Regions from separate parts of the Homo sapiens genome. Here region 1 is linked to region 2. The links are contacts of gene promoters, found by promoter capture Hi-C in human tissues and cell types (Jung and others, 2019). All regions are on one chromosome and are shown on one strand. Each heading gives the region's core, a stretch centred on a gene start or on the middle of the fragment in contact. The rest is flanking DNA. Distances are from core to core; before and after follow the strand shown.

The links. The method cuts DNA at HindIII sites, captures the fragments that hold promoters and counts their contacts. A contact is called where the count stands out against the background at its distance.
Region 1: a fragment that was not itself captured here is called in contact with the fragment with the promoter of KCTD8 in region 2 in 1 of the 25 tissues and cell types used here (dorsolateral prefrontal cortex).

Annotation. Positions count from the first base shown.
Region 1 is chr4:44,393,163-44,397,021 of GRCh38, forward strand. All of the region lies in intron 1 of KCTD8 (potassium channel tetramerization domain containing 8), which reads right to left. Among named protein-coding and RNA genes, the nearest start is that of KCTD8, 54 kb to the right of the region's middle. The HindIII fragment of the contact is 3,687 bases long and covers 396-3,859 here.
Region 2 is chr4:44,447,284-44,451,152 of GRCh38, forward strand. It overlaps KCTD8 (potassium channel tetramerization domain containing 8), which reads right to left and starts at 1,526. Exons shown (of 2, transcript NM_198353.3): 1 at 280-1,526. The coding sequence starts at 1,240. The HindIII fragment of the contact is 6,980 bases long and covers 1-3,869 here.

The DNA.
Region 1 (3,859 bases), core at 989-3,488, 53 kb before region 2:
CCTTATAGAAGTGTGGTATTTTCAGGAGCATTATAACAGCAAACTGTAGGTCTGATGGCTCTTCAAAAGTATGATCAGGTTTCGGTAAAGGAGACATGGTAGGGAAAACAAAAAACCAAAGCTTATTCTGTTTTCCTAAAGTTATAAAGAAAGTTAAAAGAATACATATTTGATCTTCAAAATAATATATTCCTAAGAAAATTAGTGTAAAGCATTTAAAAACTACATAACAGTTATTCTCACACTAGTGGGTCTAAATATGGTTGATGAAGGGAAAAAAACAGTAAATTTAAATTATGCCAATAACGTTGGTAAATGTATTATATTTCCAAACAGAACAACTATGAAAGTTCACACTGAAAAAAAAAAACACATGAAAAAGAGGTCTACTACCTACTCACATTATAAGTATTAAATTCTATTATTAAAAATCCAATAAGAAATTCAAATGAGCATTTTAAGAAAACTTTTATGTATTTACAATGGAGTTTATGAATGGTAGTTATCAGAATATTTAAGTATCTTATAAATTATTAATATAAACATAAATGATAGTAATAAATGGTGAGGACTACGCTGCCATGAACTAGTTATCCTCACCTCCTCATTAGGCATTCTCTCAACTATTTATTCAATAAACATTTACAGAGCATCTCTTATTCTGTAGAAGCTTAGAAATCAAATAAAGAGCTTATTTTTGCCATTGCACTATATGATTAAAAAATTAAAATATAAAATAAAAGTAAATAGTATTTAGTATGCCTATACGGTGTATATTTACAGCTCTCTGATTACTTCAAATTTGATAATCTATGCATTTTTTGTTAAGAATATAGAGTTCAAGAGAATATAATATAAGCATTCATTCTGTGTGCTTAGTTTACCATTACTGGTTTACTTTCTCATTAAATCATTAGGAAGTGCTGAAAATAATACTTATTTCAAAATATAGAAAATTCATTCCAAAAACCTAATTACGAGTAGTAAACTCAAATGATTCAGAACAAAAAATATAATCTAGTGATTGCCAAAAACATGGCAAGCACTAGAAGCTTTCACATCCATCGCCTCAGTTAAGGGGAGTTGCTACTATGCCCTTTTATACAGGCAAAGAAATACAGTTTCTAAAAATCAAGTAACTAGCCCAACTTCACAATTCATAGGAGTGGGATTTGAGTACATATCTTCTTTGAGCTTCCAAATCCCATGAACCCAACATAAAACCATAGTATGTCTCAAAGAAAGCTTAAACTCAGAAAGAAAGAAAAAAAAATACCCTTTGGTCTTTTTACAAGTGCATATTTCAAAAGAAATTCAATGTCTGTGCAATATGTATTCCCATATTATCATATTTAATGTCATAAAAACTCACTGATGTGGTCATTATGAATCCTATTTTTATTTTGATTCCTTAAGATCAGATCCTGGCTTCAAATCTGTCTCTCTGACATCATTAAACCTCACTGAATTCAAATCGGATAATTTGACCCACACAATTTTGCTATGTCGTATGTGCTATAAGACAGGTGAAGCATTACATCTAGGGATTTTGCTTACAACTCTAAACCAGACCAAGATCTCAAAAACACAAACAAAAACAAAACTTTACTTGATTCAGTGAAGAAATAGACACATTAATTGAGCATGAATTTACCAAAAAATAATGAAAAAACTTATTGCAACATTTTCTCACATCACAAAAACATTCAGGTTCTGATGTAGGTCTTGTTCCAGTGACTCGACAATAGAGGCCTTAACTCTGTGATTATCAAGGCTTTTCCTTCATGATGGTCCTTCGTGTTCTCAAGATAGCTGCTCAGGTTTCAGGCATGATAGTTGTGTTTACAGCAAGGAGAAAGGGAAAGTGGTGATATTACCCTCTAGATTTCCCTTTGTAATGAACACAAAAGTTTTCCTGGGCACATTCCCAGAAGACTTCCTCCAATGGTTAGTAGCCAGAACTGTGTGATATCTCCAACTTTTGCAGCAAGAAAGGTAAGAAAAGGGCATGTTTAGATTTTGATAGTCTACAAAAAAACAGTAATGAGAGAAGGGAGAGGTAAAGGGATAGCGTGTGATCCTGAGACAGGAATAATACAGGGTGGTCACAGGAGAATAGAAAATTCCAGGAAGCAGTTTCACATGATTAGCAAAAGGAAACTGTTGACATAGCTGCATAAGCTAGGGGCCGAAAAGACCCTGAAATAGGGTGTAGGCCAATCTGGCTAAGAGTAACTGGACACAACACGGTACCTGATTTGACTTAGGTTTCACCTAGGACCTCATTATATGCTCATTAACATCCTAAATCACACACCCACCAGCACCATGAGGATTCTGGGAACACCCATATTCGGCATAAAAATGGATGGCACAGTTCCAAGAAATCTTCACCTTTTTCCAGAAGTCTTCATAAATATTTCACTCCTTGGTTAAAGAAACCCATAAAGGTAGCAGTCACACACCCCTTGTGTGTGACTCTCTCTTGATTATGCCCACAGTCCCCTTTCTTGAGTGTATACATTTACCTTTGCAAAAAATGTTCGTACTTTTACTATTTTCTGACTGGTCCTTGAATTTCTTCTCACGGCTGTGTCAAGAGCCCAGACACTGGCTGGGGGTGAGGTTCCACCCGCATTTGAGGACCTCCCCTAGCTCACCAGTATCAATCCCACTATATAGCAGCAGTCTCCAACCATTTTGGCACCAGGGACTGGTGTTGTGGAAGACAATTTTTTTTATGGACAGGGGAAGAGGTTAGGGATGGTTTGAGGATGATTCAAGTACATTAATTGTACACTTTATTTCTATTATTGTACACTTTATTTCTATTATTATTACACTGCGGTATATAATGAAATAATTATACAAGTCACCATAATCTAGAATCAGTGGGAGCCCTGAGCTTGTTTTCCTGCAGCTAGATGGTCCCATCTGGGGGTGATGAGAGACAGTGACAGATCATCAGTCACAAGATTCTCATAAGGAGCATGCAACCTAGATCCCTCGCAGGCACAGTTCACAATAGGGTTTGCACTCCTATGAGACTCTAATGCAGCCACTGATCTGACAGGAGGCAGAGCTCAGGCAGTAACGCAAGTGATAGGGGAGCAGCTGTAAATAACAGACAAAATGAAGCTTCACTGGCTTGCTCATCACTCACCTCCTGCTTTGCAGCCTGCTTTCTAAATGGCTATGGACAGGTACAGGTCTGTGGCCTGGGGTTTGGGGACCACTGCACTATAGAGTGCACTATAGAGTGTTTGCTCCAAGAACTACTCAAGGAAAGTTGTTTTTTTTTTTCTTTTAATTCTATCACATTAAACAGATACTTGCCATTTTGTTTCTTCTTAAAGTCAGGTCAGAAAACTTTAAAACAACTTCAACTTTTTCATGTTTTTTTCTCATTAACATAAAAATTCTGGACAAACACACAGGCACACAAAACACAAAACAATGAGCTGATTAACATCTAAGAAAAAAATCAGGTCAAATCTTGGTTACCCTAACCTATTAGGGAAATATCTGCACCAGAATTCATTAGTTGCATACTTAGTACCTTCACCACTTTACTAAGAGAACCACCTTCTTAGTGTGCAGGAACGGCCTCATCACACATTTCAGACCCATGCAGTGGAAATATAAATTGTTAGGAGGTTTAAGAGAGCTTCTAAAAAGAAAAGAATAAACTAATGAACTCAACTGATATGACCCCATTTTGTCCTTTGCCTTCCTCTCACAGCTTAAAATTCAAGCCCGGTAGTTGAACTCCAGCAGTCAACTTCCAAAAATAAGTATCACACTCCAAGAATGGCTAACAAAGCTAAAAGGAGCCTGGCTTCTAGGGACACTAGGACCT
Region 2 (3,869 bases), core at 276-2,775:
GGGCCGAGAAGGCAAGATCAATAAAGTTCAGCAAGTAGACAGCTGGGAGCTGGGTGCTACTGAGTTCTAGAAAGGGGGAGTAGAGACGGAAATATCCGAATCGGTGAAATGTAAATCGTGTCTACTGCATAAGGGAATCGTGCAGGGAGAGCCGCTCTCTATAAGGAGTTAACCAGCGCCTGCCCCGGACACCCCCGCGGGGCCTCCAGCGGGGCTCAAACTGGCGGCGGCTCAGCAGGGGGCGAGGGGTGCTGGGAAACGCCGGGGCTGCGAACTTACGGAAGAAAATGTACTCGGTGTAGCTGCTCCAGATCTTGTCGTCGCGGTACTGGTTGACGAAGGCGGCGGTGCCCGAGGAGTTACACGCCACCATGTGGAAGCCGGCCTCGGACAGGCGATCAAAGGCCTGCTCCAAGTAGGTGAACTTGAGGTAGAAGCGGGACGTGTACTTCTCCGGCTGCCGGTCGGGGTCGCGGCTCTCGTTGAGCGTGTCCCCGAAGACCTCCTTGGCCAGCGCGATGCGCCCGCACACCATGATGCGCGCCACACGCCGGAATTTGGCGTCGGCCTGGTTGTCGCGCACGGTGGTGTAGGAGCCCCGGTAGCCCAGCGTGAGGAAGCCCGAGCGCTTGTCCTGCGCGCCGCCGCCGCCGCCACCACCGTGCGCTCCCGGGCCCGAGGGCACGGCGGCCGCCGCCCCGCGCAGCAGCAGCGCGTCGCTGCTACCCTGCGAGACGTTGTCCTCCAGGTCGCTCTGGCAGCCCTCGTCGTTGAGAGAGTTCTGCTTGGTGACCTTGGGCGACAGCAGCTTGACCAAGTCGGTGAGCTGGAAATACTCGGCCTCGCGCAGCAGCCGCTCCTTCTCGGGGAAGTGCTCCGGCAGCGCGAGTTGCTTGTCCCGCAGATAATCCAGCACGTACCTGAAAAGGAAGCCGTCCCGGTCGATGAAGAAGCGCGCCCGGCTGTCCCTGGGCAGCTCGCCCCGGCGCCGGGCGCCGCCACGGGGACTAGAGGGCGAGAACATGCTGGCCAAAGTACTGTCCGGGACGCTGAGCAGCGTCGAGTGCTTGGTCACATAAACCTGGCCGCCTACGTTCAGCTCCACTACTTCAGGGAAGGGCGAGGGTGCGCAGGGCCCCGGGGCGGCGGCGGCCGACGCGCCGGGCGAGCTGGACGAGGAAACCATCTCGCTAATGGGCAGGATGGTGCTGCCGCCGCTGCCCGTGTCCTTCAGAGCCATAGTCCCCCCGCCGCCGGCCCAGTGACCCGAGAGAGCTGCACTTTCTCGTTCCCGGAGCCCGCGCCCCAGCCCTCCGCGTGCTCCTGGCGCTCTGCGCCCTCGGACTGGGCGGCGCGTTCCTCCGACCGGGGCGGCCCCGCTCAGGGTTCGGGGCAGCGGCGGCGTCGGCGGCGCCCGAGCTCCATCGGAGGAGAGACGCGCGAGAGAGGAGCTCCGCCGGTGCGGCGGCGGCAATGGAGAGGCAAGAAGGAGCTGCTGCTCCTTTGGGGCGAGGGCGGGGAAGTGTGAGAGAGACTTGCGAGAGGCTCTAGGGCTGCTGCTCGGCTCTCCGTGGGGAGGGCGGGAGGAGGGGCCGAAGCAAAGAAAACTCGCCGCCCCGGCAGCTTGCAAGCGTGCCGCGAGGCCGGAGCGCCGACGGTGGCGCTAACTACTCCTGGCAGCACGGGAGGAGGCACTGACGTCAAGCCCCGGACTGGGACCCGAGCCTCAGCTGTCATTTAAAGAGATAGGCTGCAGCCGCGGCTCCCGGGCTCCGACGCTAGGGGGCGGGGCCGAGAGCCGAGCCTGCAAGAGGTGCAGCTCCCCGACCCGCGGGGACAGGCAGGCAGGGAGCTCCTAAAGCAAAAGCGAGAAAAAGGGACAGCGCTCTCATTCCTTCATTTCACTCCCTCCTTGGGTCTGTGCCACCCCCTTTCCTCCCTCCTTTCCTTCTTCTCTTCCTTCCTTCCTTGCCTCCCTCCCCAGTAAAACTAGTTTTTTGCACTTTCATTAAGGTAAGGAGTGGAGGAGCGGAGAGGGGAGAATAAGGTTTTGATTATAGCAAAGATGCCAGGCTCCTAATCTGAAATCACCACAAATGTTGGCTTGCCAGCAGTGATTGCAAAAAGATTACGTGAGGGTGGGAAGGTACATCTCTTGTAGTGGCTTTATGATACAGTTTAAGTGAAGGGCTAAATGCGCGTACCTCTCTTGGAATCAAATTTCACGACTGCGTGCACTGAATATCCTTGAATAATTTTTAAAACTTTGTAATCTGCTTTCAGTTCACAATAATAAAGGAGTGTATGTAACAACTGTTTCCTTCCGACATTTTTACAATTTTTAGTTTTAAATTAGATGCTTAATAAATGTTTATAGAGGGAGAGACGGAGCCCGAGAGGAAATTTACTCGATTTGTTCATTCTTTCTAATCCTGATCAGTCTCATTAATCTCTCCATTTCCCTTTCAGCTCCATCAAACAAGAGAAGTGGCTGATATTTTTATTAGTCTTCTAACCCCAAGAGTAAGGTCACAAATAAAAATTATATGAATTTAAGCTCACCTTAATTTCCATGTGTACATAGTACAGGTACAGTCTGCAAAATGAGCATTACTTGTGATAAAGACTGAAAATAGGAAAGCAAATGAGAAATATTTCTTCTACCCTGGGGCATACATCTGTGTTCAGAAACATAAAGAATCATTGATTTATGAAGTACAAAAGAGAAAAGGGTGTATTGTGGCACAAAGTAGTTTGCTTCAATTATCATAACAATATTACAGATGAACTTTATCCATTAGCAGTCGATATACAGATTTTAATATTTTTTAAAAAGTTAAATGCCTACTAACAACTCCTTTTCTTCAAACCACCCAAAAAAGTATCAAATTTCAGATACGGTTGTAAATTAATACATTATTTTTGGAACATTACAAATTATGTTTAAATCATTGATCCTTATAAGCTGCATCCATAGACAATGTTATACCAATTTTGAAGTTGCATTATATGAAGCAGAGAGAACCTAATGGACCAATGAAAGAACAGAATATATTTGCCAAAGGACTGAGACTTAAAACGGGGGTTTCGGTATGCATCATCATGCAATCCTTTTACTCAAAACTATTGTGTCCTGCCAAATTTATAAACTGATTGATCAAATTAACTAATTTAATTGATTTAGCCTTCATTTAAAAGTTAAAACCAAGTATTAAAATAACAGAAAAAATACACTATTTTCTGCCTCATTAGAAGAATATTCGGGATTTAAAGTAATCGTTCCTGGATAAATGAATTAATAGATGCTTTATAATCTTCATAGATGAATATATAATAATGCCTCAAACCACTACTAGTGAAGCCCATTTATCATAAGGTAAGTGTCCCTAATGATAAGTAAGGTGCAGACTGTAGAACTGTAATGAAGTGGATATATAATAAATATGCATGTGAATATGAAGTCGCTAATATCAGGTTGAAATCCATCTTTACTTTTGAATTAAATAAATTATGTCTATAAGATAAAGTGATCAAAAATTTATACTCTAAATGAATCATCTCAAAAATTCACAATGAATTGTATTGTTTGATATATTCCTTTTTAAAATGATTCCTTCAACTTGATTAAACATTTTTTCTTAATTTCTTCTCTCTTCACACTCCTATTACTCTCCTCTGTCTCCCAGTTATACCCTTCAACCAAACTCAGACTGAACAAATTGCAGATCTACAATGTTTCTATCTTTCCTCTTCCTTCTGCTAGGAATGCCCTTCCTCTTCCACCAGATCCCTAACCCATTCTCCCTGCTTACCAATTTCCTCCAGCTCTTAGTTTAAATATCACTTTCTCTAGAAATCTTTACATTCAC